2 separate regions of the Homo sapiens genome follow, and region 2 is linked to region 1. The links are contacts of gene promoters, found by promoter capture Hi-C in blood cells and fetal thymus (Javierre and others, 2016). All regions are on one chromosome and are shown on one strand. Each heading gives the region's core, a stretch centred on a gene start or on the middle of the fragment in contact. The rest is flanking DNA. Distances are from core to core; before and after follow the strand shown.

Region 1 (5,378 bases), core at 920-3,419:
GCCCTGGCTTCACCACTACGCAATACACGCATGTACAAATTACACTTGTACCTCACAAATTATACAAATAAAAATTTTTAAAAGAAAAAAGTTATCTAACAAAGAATATCCACATAAAAGAGGAGTTTATCACTGACGCACACTAAACACACCTTCATTCTAAAAGGAATGGGGGAAAGAAAAGACTCCTATAAAAATGTTCAAACGAAACAATTGGCTTTTGTAAAGCTATCTGTATGCCCTAAGACTTCCTGCTTTACCTAAAGAGGCAAGGCAGTTTCTCAAACCAGAGAAAACCTGGCAGAACAGTTTCAAAGTGAGCAAATACCTAAGCAATTAACATGTTATCTTGGGTAGTTTTGTGGTATTTTGGCAAATACGGCACAAAAATTAAAAACTCAGTATCCTAAATATCAGAAAAGCTCACTAATACGTGTAGCATTTAAAATGTGATTTTTTTACAAATGACACCTTATAAGTACTTTAAGCAACTAGAAGTGCTCAGTCCAGCTACTCTTTCACAGCTTTCAAATGTTTACAAAGTTTTTTAAAATATCACTAATTGAGTTGAATTCAAAGGAACACGGTTTACTTTATTTCCATGGCTCACCTTTTACTAAAATGCTTAGTGGTTTAAAAGGTGTTTATTTTTACCACACTTAACAAACATTCTGTGGTCATAAATTTATCTTAAAACAGTTCATTTTAAACCTAAACTAAACAAATTCCAACTTCAAAAAGCTGTGGCCTTGAACAAAATGAATTCAATTGTCGCTAAAGCAAAACACTAACTCAAAGTTCAGAATCCGGAGAGCGTTTCCCAAGAGCCCAGATAAAGAATCAACAGCCCCCCAGTGTTTTATAAAGTTAAAATTAGCAAAGGGTCAAAATGTTTATTTTGCTTACGAAAACTGCATCGGAAGCCACATTTCTTGGGGTTGGGCCTGTCTTAGTAAGTTTTTAGGTGCTTTCAAGAAACAAAATGCTAAGCCTATTGTTTCAGAAGTTAACTGACTTTAAAACAGAACCCAGGAAAAGCTTCATAAAATCTTATTCTTAATTAATCCCAGTAATAACAGGAATTGAGCAAAATGGTATCGAGGGCTGAGAACAGTGTTTTCTTAATTGAACAATAAAAGGTAACAATCTAAGTTACGGGAGAATAAAGCCTTCTCTGGTAATGCTGTGTGTGGGTTTCTGGCTTTGTTTTTTCAGCGGGGGGGGGGGGGGGGGCTATAGGAGGGAAAAGTTACAGGAGTGTATTCCTCACTTGACGTGGGAATGGTACTGACAAGTAAAACAAATGATCTATGTTTACCAAGCATGTTTGTGAGGACTAAAACTAGTATTGTGTATCTAGATTTTCCTACTAGCAAGGGGTGAACCCCTCTTTGAGTGAAGAGAGACACCAACACCGGGAGGCTCAAAAAGGAAGAACCCACCAAAAACACAAGCTCACACGGAAACAAAAGGCCACAGCAACCCAGGAGCCTAAAAAGCATTCTGAAACTTCCTGATCGCCACTTCTCCACATTTAAGGCTCGCAAAGTTCCCCCACGGTGAATCTCGCCTGTGGACAAGGGCCACGGCTGCTTCTAAAGCGATTTATTGTTCCTCCTCCTCCGGCGCTGCCACGGAAGCTCAAGAAGTCGAAGAAATCGGGGTGGCACAGAATTACACTTCATGGCCACACAGAAGACTCGGGGCTTCGCAAACCCATCAAAAAAAGCAACCCGAATGGCAACATCAATCTTCGGTGGTTCCCAACAGGGCCAGGCAAAAATGTAGAGGCACGTCTACGCCCTGGGCTCGGGCCTAAACCCCCAGCATTTTCCTAGCTTCGACCCCGCTCCCCACCCCCTCCCTCCTTTGATAACAATAGGGGCCTTGCTGCTGACTCCAAAACATGTACGAGGAACAGCGAGTGAGAAGCCTCAGCCAGGGCCCCGGCGGCTTTTCCAAAGCCCTTCTCACCCCCACAACCACTCTCAAACACCAATATGAAGGGACAATCTGCTCGTTAGGGGTCCGGAGCAGCGTTTGGGGCCGGTGGGGTGCGGATACTCACGGGCGGAGCGGTAGGATGAAGATGGATTTCAGCCCCCCGATCTTCTCTCTCTGGCGCTCTCGCTCCCCCTTACCTTTCACTCCGACAACATGGCGGCCCACTGGGGACTGGGTTGGCGCGGTGCATCCTGGGATAGGCTCCGGCCCCGGCCCCGGCGGTGGCAGCGGCATGTGCGGAGAAGGCTGGCGGCTCTGGAACAGGTTGCCTGGTTGCCATGCCAACCCAGGGCCTGTGTGAACTCGGGAAACTCGCAGGCAACACAAACGCTGCGCGCGAGTGCCCGCCCGCTAGGCGAGCGCGCGCCGCCAGGGCCGAAGGCGGGGTCCCGCCGGCCCGCACCTGGGAGAACACGGCCTGGAGCTGGGCACGCGGGGTTGCGCCGGTGACGCTCCACCGAGTCTCGGACGCGCTCCTCGCGCCCGCCGCGCCCTCGGAAGCTTGCCCCCGAGCACCACAGCTAGCAGGGTTCGCGGACGGCCACCCGCACTGCCCTGGCCCCAGAGGTGCAGGGTTCAAACCCCTTCTCTGCAGCTTTCTAGCTCTGCGGCCTTATTTAAATCGACCTGCCTCCATTTCCACATTTGTACAATGAAGAAGAAAATAACCCCCACTTAACAGAATGGCCTGGAGGATTAAGTGGAATAATGTATGTTAAGTGCTTTTAGTCTTACTGTCTCAAACTAAACTCAAAATAGATTGAAGGCCGGGCGCGGTGGCTCACGCCTGTAATCCCTGGACTTTGGGAGGCTGAGGCGGGCGGATCATGAGGTCAGGAGATCGAGACCATCCTGGCTAACATGGTGAAACCCTGTCTCTACTAAAAATACAAAAAAATTAGCCGGGCGTGGTGGCGGGCACCTGTAGTCCCAGCTACTCGGGAGGCTGAGGCAGGAGAATGGCCTGAACCTGGGAGGCGGAGCTTGCAGTGAGCAGAGATCGCGCCACTGCACTTGAGCCTGGGCGACACGGAGAGGCTCCGTCTCAAAAAAAAAAAAAAAATAGATTGAAAACAGACAAATCGCAATACTGTAAAAGACCAGAAGAAGATATGGGGAGAAGCTCTATAATTGGAGGAGGGAAAATGTTTATACTCATGAATCAAAGTCAAAAGATCATAAAAGAAAATATTGAAAGAAATATAAACATCTGTACGAGAAGAGATGCCATCAACAAAGTAGAACAAATGGATAAAAAATATTTGCAGTACACGGCCAGGCGCGATGGCTCATGCCTGTAATCCCAGCACTTTGGGAGGCCGAGGCGGGTGGATCATGAGGTCAAGAGATCAAGACCATCCTGGCCAACATGGTGAAACCCCGTCTCTACTAAAAATACAAAAAAATTAGCCGGGAGTGGTGGCGGGCGCCTGTGGTCCCAGCTACTGGGGAGGCTGAGGCAGGAGAATCACTTGAACCCAGGAGGCAGAGGTTGCAGTGAGCCAATATTGTGCCACTGCACTCCAGCCTGATGACAGAGCAAGACTCCGTCTCAAGAAAAAAAATATATATATATACACATATATGTATATATACATATATACATATATATACACATATATACATATATACACATATATACATATATACATATATACACATATATACATATATAAACATATATATACGTATATATACATATATATATATTTGCAATACACATGATAAGGAAATGGTTGATCATCATGATAAATGCAAAATTTCTCCCATCAGGGTCCTGGTGGGGTGGCTCACACCTGTAATCCCAGCACTTTGGGAGGCAGAGGTGGTAGAATTGGTTGAGGCCAGCAGTTTGAGACCAGGCTGGGCAACATAGTGAGGCCTCGTCTCTACAAAAAGTTAAAAATTATCTGGGCATGGTGGCACACATCTGTAGTCCTAGCTACTTGGGAGCTAAAGCAGGAGAATTCCCTTGAGCCCAGGAATTGAGCTGCAATGAGCTATGATTGGGCCACTACATTCCAGCCTAGGAGACAGAAAGAGGCCCTGTATCAAATAAATAAATAAATAAAATCTGTAATCAATTTCTAAAAATCCGAAATGGGCTGGGCGCAGCGGCTCATGCCTGCAATCTGAACACTTTGGGAGGCCGAGGCAGGCAGATCACTTGAGGTCAGGAGTTCGAGACCAGCCTGGCCAACATGGTGAAACCCCATCTCTACTAAAACTACAAAAATTAGCCGAGCGTGGTTATGGGCGCCTGTAATCCCAGTTACTCTGGAGGCCGAGGCAAGAGAATCGCTTGAACCCAGGAGGTGGAGGTTGCAGTGAGCTGAGATGAAGCACTGCCTGGGAAACAGAATGAGATTCCATGTCAAAAGGAAAGAAATAAATCCAAAATAAAATAAATCCAAAATAAACAAACATAACAAAATCACATACAGCCAAGAAACATAAAAGTAGCCTGGGGTTGAGGGATGAAAGAGCAGAAATGGGAAGGTACTGCTAATGGGTATGGGGTCTCCTTTTGGAGTGTTGAAAACCTTTTAAAATTAGAGTGCGATGACGGTTGCAAAACTGTGAGTATACCATAAACCACCAAAGTAGACACTTTATGATTTAAATGGTGAATTTGTATTTTACTTTTGTTTTTCGAGACAGGGTCTCCCAGGTTAGAGTGCAGTGGTGTAACCATGGCTCACTTGTAGGCTTGAACTCCAGGGCCCAAGCGATCCTCTCACCTTGGCCTCCTAAGAAGTTGGAACTTCAGCCATGCACCAACACACTTAGCTAATTTTTTTGTTTTTGTTTTTGTTTTGAGATGAGTTCACCCTGTGTTGCCCAGGCTGGTAAATTAGTGAATTTTAGGCCGTGTATGGTGGCTCATGCCTGTAATCCCAAAACTTTGGGAGGCTGAAGCAGGCTGATGACTGGAGGTCAGGAGTTCAAGACCAGCCTGGCCAACATGGTGAAACCTCATCTCTACTAAGAATACAAAAATTAGCTGGGCGTAGTGTCAGGTGCCTGTAATACCAGCTACTTGGGAGACTGAGGCAGGAGAATCACTTGAACACGGAAGGCAGAGGTTGCAGTGAGTAGAGATTGCACCATTGCACTCCAGCCTGGGTGACAAGAGCCAGACTCCGCCTCAAAAAAATAAAATAAAATAAAATAAAATAGTGAGTTTTATGGTATATGAAATATATATCGGCCGGGCACGGTGACTCATGCCCGTAATCCCAGCAATTTGGGAGGCCGAGGCAAGCGGATCATGAGGTCCTGAGATCGAGAACATCCTGACCAACATGGTGAAACCCTGTCTCTACTAAAAATACAAAAATTAGCTGGGCGTGGTGGTGTGCACTTGTAGTCCC
Region 2 (5,596 bases), core at 594-3,093, 730 kb after region 1:
AGGGGAGGGAGTGCACACCCGTTTCCCTCCATACCAACTGCATTAGGAAAACCACCCAAACTGTGGGCTCAGAACCAAGCTGTAGGTTTGCATAGTAATTTGCGTCATTTGCATAGAGCGCGGAGGCTGCGGCGCTCCCAGGCCATTTCGAGCCGGAAAAGTTCCCGAAGGAGCCCCGCTCCCTCTCCCGGTTCAACTGTCCAGCCCCCTCTCCCTACCCCTCACCCGCACCCCACCCGCATCCTACCCCGCCCCCGCTTCCAACTCCTTGCGCTAAGTTCCCGCACCTCGCCCCACCCCCCGCTTTGACTCCGGTCCTGCCAGCCCCGACCTCCATCCCAAGGCCGAGGGCCCCCTCTGCTGTCGTCCGCGGGTAGGGCAGCCGCAGAGCTCATGGGGCAGAGAAGAAGGGCTCCCCCAACCGACCATCGCCCCACCCCTTCCAGTCCAGCAGGGGCCAGGGTGAGGCCTGTACATGGGTGGACTTTGCGAAGGGGTGAGCAAAGAGCGGGTAGGGCCCTTCTGGCCCCGGGGCGAAGGGTGGGGTTCTAGAGAGGTTCTCTCCTGGAAGCCAGGCCCCTTTCCCCACGCTGGGTTGGTTGGCCCTGGCAGCTGGTTCCCCCATCAGTCCGCAGATGCAGCTCTCTCGAGGTACACCCCACATGAAACGCTTGACAGTTGCAGTTGCTGTTAGAAGCTTGTTCTAGGCCCAAGGCAAGGCAGCACCGTCCAACCCTAATACCAGTCTCCAACCCCACCCTGAATGCCCACCACCAAGGCTAAGACCTTTGACATTTTCTAACACCAGTCTCTGGAATCTGGCAAGAGATACAGAGAGGAGTCACCCAATCTGGATCTCCTGACTTCCTCAACAGAGACCTACACACAGGCAGGCCATGAAACTCACACAGATACTCTCACATGCTTGCAGGCACACTAGTGCACAGAGATCCCTGAGAAGCACATAGACAGAGACTCGGAGGGAATATGGTGAAGGTATGTACTATCCTTCCCCATCTAGTCAAAGGAAAAAAAAATCTTAGTATTAACTGAAAAATTTAAAGTCCACTGCAACTTGCTTATCTTTTCCTCTCTAGCAATCTCTTGATGTCTGATGTCTGTGACCCTCCAAAAGGCTCTGTCCATTTCTCTCTCCACCCCCAACCTCGGTCCTACTTTCTTTCCCACCACCACCTCTTCCTCCTGGTTCAGAATACTTGCAAAATGCTTCCAGAAACCACCGTGGCAATAGCTGTGCCCTGGGGCGCAGTGATGGTTCAGGACCTCAGACCAGCAATGAGCAAGGCTGCACATTTGTGCACAAGACACTCACTGACACACCCACTCAACCCACATCTGACCAGGACCAGGGGCTCTCCTGACCAGCTAGCAGATGCAATCCCAATTTTACCAAATTCTTTATTGAACAAAAAATCAACAGCAAACATTGTCAAACAGGAAGTTCAAACAGGGCAGGTGGGTAGGGCTGACCATCCTCTCCTTGCAGTCCCACCTCTCTCTGGAACAGGCTTCAACACTAGTGAGGGCATCAAAACCCCTGTTCTGGTGGGTAAGGAGGGTCAGGCCTTTCTAGGGAAGGGACACTCAGAGCCAGCTTCATCTGTAGGCCCCAAAGAGGAGTCACGGGCTGGGCCAGGGGGCTCTGGAGCTGCAAGGGCGCTAGACAAACGCTGCAGAGGGCGGGGGATGGAGCTCTTGGTCTGGGGGCACAGTAAGGCTTGGAGCTGGTGACTCATGGTCGCCAGGGATTCGAGGTGCCGGAGCAGGGCTTGGTGGGGACAGGAGTCCCTGTGGAAGTGCTGGCCACGGCCAAAGCCATGACCAGCTGGTGCTACTGAATAGGGATGCTGGGACTGGCGCAAGCCTGGCTCTGGGGGCCACTGCCCTCGCCCAGGATGCTGCCAGTTTTCAGGCTCTGGCCAGAGCCTCCCCCTGCCTCTGGGGGGCCTCTGCCAAGCAGAGATTCCCCTTGGAGCTATACTGCCCCTGCCCTGGCTCTGCTGCCAGGCACCTCCTGGGGGAGGGGTGCCCTTCAGGGGCACATTCGGCCTCCTGTCATCTGGCTGATAGTATCTCTTCTCCACCTTACTGTTGAAGGAGACCATCTTTTGAACCTTCCCCAACCAGGGGCTGGACCCTGCTGTGTCTGGAAGCCCTTCCTTGGGGAGCAGCACAGCCAGCAACAGACTTGAGTGAGTGACCTCCAGACCTGGGGAAAGGAGAGGGGAGACAGGAAGAGCCCAAAGGCCTGCGGGGAAGAACTGTGTTCAGCTTAGCTGCAGCAGATCTGGAGCCTACATCCCAGGAAGGGCTTCTTCACAGTGAGATGGGGCCCATGAGATGCTGGGAAAAGTAAGTAGGAAGGTGGGGCTGTCTCGGAAGATTTGAGCTCTGCGGGATCAAGGCTTATCTGGCTGAGGCTGGGGTATGGATTGTTTGACCTGAAGACTCTACAGACTCAAAGTCTACCTCATTGTCTCAGGACATGGAGCCCCAAAAGGCCAAGCGCTTTGCTCAGGAGTGGGCAAAGCGCCCACTGCCAACCTCGCTGCTTTCCTGAGCCACGCCGTGGAGGGTGTCCATGCACAGAGGCCGAGCTCGGCCCCCCGTGGCTGTGGCGAAACATCCCTCCCTCCTCTCTGAGGTGACATTTACAGTCAAGTGTGTGTAGGTCCTGACTCTGTCCTGCTGCCTGGGTCAAATGTGGCTGTCCCTGGAGTTTCTCTTCAGGGGTGCCTACCTTGAGAGGCAGTGTGGTGTGGTGGTTAGGGGCCAGGTTTCTGAAGCCATGTTGTGCTTCACACAACGTGTGAACAGAGTGAAGCCCAGTTCTGCTGTTGACTGACTGTGTGACTTTGGACAAGTCATTTGCCTTCTTCCTCCCTCAGATTCTTCTTCTATGAGATGGACAGTCTAGTCTAATAGTACCATTCTCATAGGGTGATGAGACTACAAGAATTCATCTAGGTAAAGCTTTTAGAACAATGGCTGGCATGCAGTTCATGATATCCAAGCGTGAGCTATTACTGTCATTGTACTCACATTTGCCTGGCTGGGTGAGGAGTTCCCTTCTGAGATGTGCCTGCCTCTACTGGGTGACTGTGTCAACCGTGCCTGGTCTGGTCACCAAGTGAGCAGAGGCAGGGTCTGGTATGGGGACTAGGCACTCACCTGGGCCCCCCAAAGGGCGCAGCCTGGTGGGCAGGGGCTGGAAGGCAGGCAGGGGCAGCAGGACCATCCCCATGTGCTCCACAGAGGCCAGCCCGTGGCGCTGCCTATCATTGAGGTATGAGTAGAGCAGGCGGCAGTTCTGGGTGTCCCGGGCCCCATGTGGGCACAGTCTGACCACGCAGACGTCCTGCGGTGGCAGGAGGAGAGCAGCTGTAAGCGCAGTCATCCTCTGCTCCTGCCAACACCCCTGGGCTCCCTGAAACCCCTGAGAACCCCGTGAGAAAGTATGTCTCCATCTTCCAGAGGAGGAAACAGAGGGACCTGTCCAGGGTCACACAGTGAGTCTGCAGTCACTCTGGGAACTAGACCCAGATATCCAAGCCAGGCCTCTGCTCTAGAAGTGGAGAGGGAGGTGGGAGTAAGGTACTAGGAAAAGAGGGGGTGCCCAAGAGTGGGCAGGTACCTTGGCCTTGGCTGGGCAGATGCTGGCCAGAAGGTCCCAGACAATGTTGGAGGGGATGCAGCCTGCCGAGCGGATCACGGTGGGCAGAGCCTAGGGGCAGGAAGGATGGCCAGTCAGCTCCCCAGCTTCCCACCCACTCAGGGTGGACGCATTCCCAGCCACCTGGAAGGCTGCAGCCTGTGGCAAATATGGGCAGGCAGTGTTCCAGGACCCTCAGTGGCTGCCCAGAAAGCTCTAATTGCCCCATGGAGGTCTGCAGCCTGTACTGGCTAATCTACAACTTCTCCAAAGCCCCTCCCTCCCTCCTCTATCCTCTGCTCTCATCCGACACTTTAGCTGATCATTAAGTCACTCAACGATCACTCCTAAAACCCTCCTTTGGGCCCTTCTTGCTATGGGTGACAGGGAGTCCTTCACCCTGTTTGTCTCTGTAGGAATGGGACCAACATCTCATTTGCCCCCATGCCCTGCACAGGGCCAGGCACAGAAAGGGGTGCCCATGAATTGTTTTAGAATGCATGAGTGAAAGAGAGAGAGAGAGAGAGGCTGCCTGGGCTGGTCAGTGTGTAAGGGAATCCCTGGCGAGGAGGGCAGGTGCACCTGGACAAGCCGACAGCTGTGTCCCGAGACCAGCTGGGCCCTGGCCCGGAACCGCTTGATGGAGAACATGTCCAGAACACCTTCCCAGGGTGGCAGGCAGGGCAGGGCCTTTGTGGGTGCAGCAGGCACATGGAGCCCAGATGGAGGGACCCTAGAGGGAGGGACAGAAGACAGGGCCAGACAGAGCAGGCCATGAGGACTTCCCCGGCACCTCCTTTCTTTTCAGAGCAGATCCTGTGTCCCTACTGTGGGGACTGGAACACTGGCCCAAGCTTGGCCTTGTGCAGGGGGCTGCCAGGAGGCTGGGATGATTAGTTCCATTGCACAGATGGGGAAAGTGAGGTTCCCAAGGGAGGGAAGACTTGCCCAAGGCCACACAGGAAAAGCCAGTGCTATGTCTGTTGCACCAGGTGGTGGCCTCCCCCTCAACCCTGCTGGGTTATCCACCTCCCTGCTCCCAACCCCACACCTGTCCTGTGGTTCCGTGGGAGACAACTCCCTGGTTTTGGGCATCTCTGGAGCAGGCATAGGAGTTTGGCTTAGGGCTTTCTGGAAGATATTGTCCCCGCAGCTCTTGGCGGCTTCGAAGGAGCCTAGCAGCTCATTCGAGGGCTCCCAGTCTGCAAATAGCAGAGGCAGGAGCTGAAACAGGGGCAGCAGCAGCGCTGAAGCCAGCCCAGGGCTTTAGAGCCAGGGTTGAACCAGGTTCTTTTCTAGGTGACCTGGGGCACGGGCACCCCTGCTCTGCCACCCTCTCCCCAGGCCACAAATCCCTGTTGCTGCTGAACTGCACGCTCAGCCCCAGCCTGGCTGCCACCCCTGCACCCCTCCCGTGTCCCCTCCCACCCTTGCAGATGTGGCAGTTGGGGTCTAAGAAGTGGTGGTCATGCTGCCCCGTGGTGTCCTCTGATGCGATGGGCAGGGCCTGTGGGCTGCAGTCCATGAACATCTGCGGTCCCTGGGAGGCAGAAGACAGAGGGGCAGGCTGAAAACGTGGCTGGGGGTGCCCGGAGGCCTCCATGGGTAGGGGGCCCCAGGATGTGGTTTATTTTTCTCAATAATAAATGTTGTTTTATTACCAAAATACTGTGAACTCATAAAGAAAATTTGGAAAACACCAAAACTTGAAAATTAAAAAGAAAATCACTTCTTGTCACACCACTCAGAGACCACTGTTGATATCCTGGGTATTCCTTTACAATCTTTTTCTTTTTTTTTCTTTTCTTTTTTTTTTTTTTGTTTGTTTGTTTGTTTTTTGAGACAGAGTCTTGCTCTGTTGCCTGGGCTGGAGTGCAGTGGCTCGATCTCGGCTCACTGCAACCTCCACCTCCCCGGTTCAAG

The links. The method cuts DNA at HindIII sites, captures the fragments that hold promoters and counts their contacts. A CHiCAGO score of 5 or more calls a contact.
Region 2: a contact is called between a fragment that was not itself captured here and the fragment with the promoter of PUM1 in region 1, in 1 of 17 cell types (neutrophils). The highest score is 6.7, in neutrophils.

The regions. Positions count from the first base shown.
Region 1 is chr1:31,063,548-31,068,925 of GRCh38, forward strand. PUM1 (pumilio RNA binding family member 1) reads right to left here and starts at 2,170. Exons shown (of 22, transcript NM_001020658.2): 1 at 2,069-2,170. RefSeq lists enhancers at 1,827-2,146, 2,014-2,928 and a silencer at 2,257-2,476. The HindIII fragment of the contact is 1,467 bases long and covers 1,037-2,503 here.
Region 2 is chr1:31,789,023-31,794,618 of GRCh38, forward strand. SPOCD1 (SPOC domain containing 1) reads right to left here. Exons shown (of 16, transcript NM_144569.7): 11 at 5,102-5,213; 12 at 4,725-4,875; 13 at 4,256-4,406; 14 at 3,656-3,745; 15 at 3,193-3,379; 16 at 1,400-2,269. The coding sequence ends at 1,581. Among named protein-coding and RNA genes, the nearest start is that of SPOCD1, 24 kb to the right of the region's middle. RefSeq lists a silencer at 81-370. The HindIII fragment of the contact is 2,297 bases long and covers 696-2,992 here.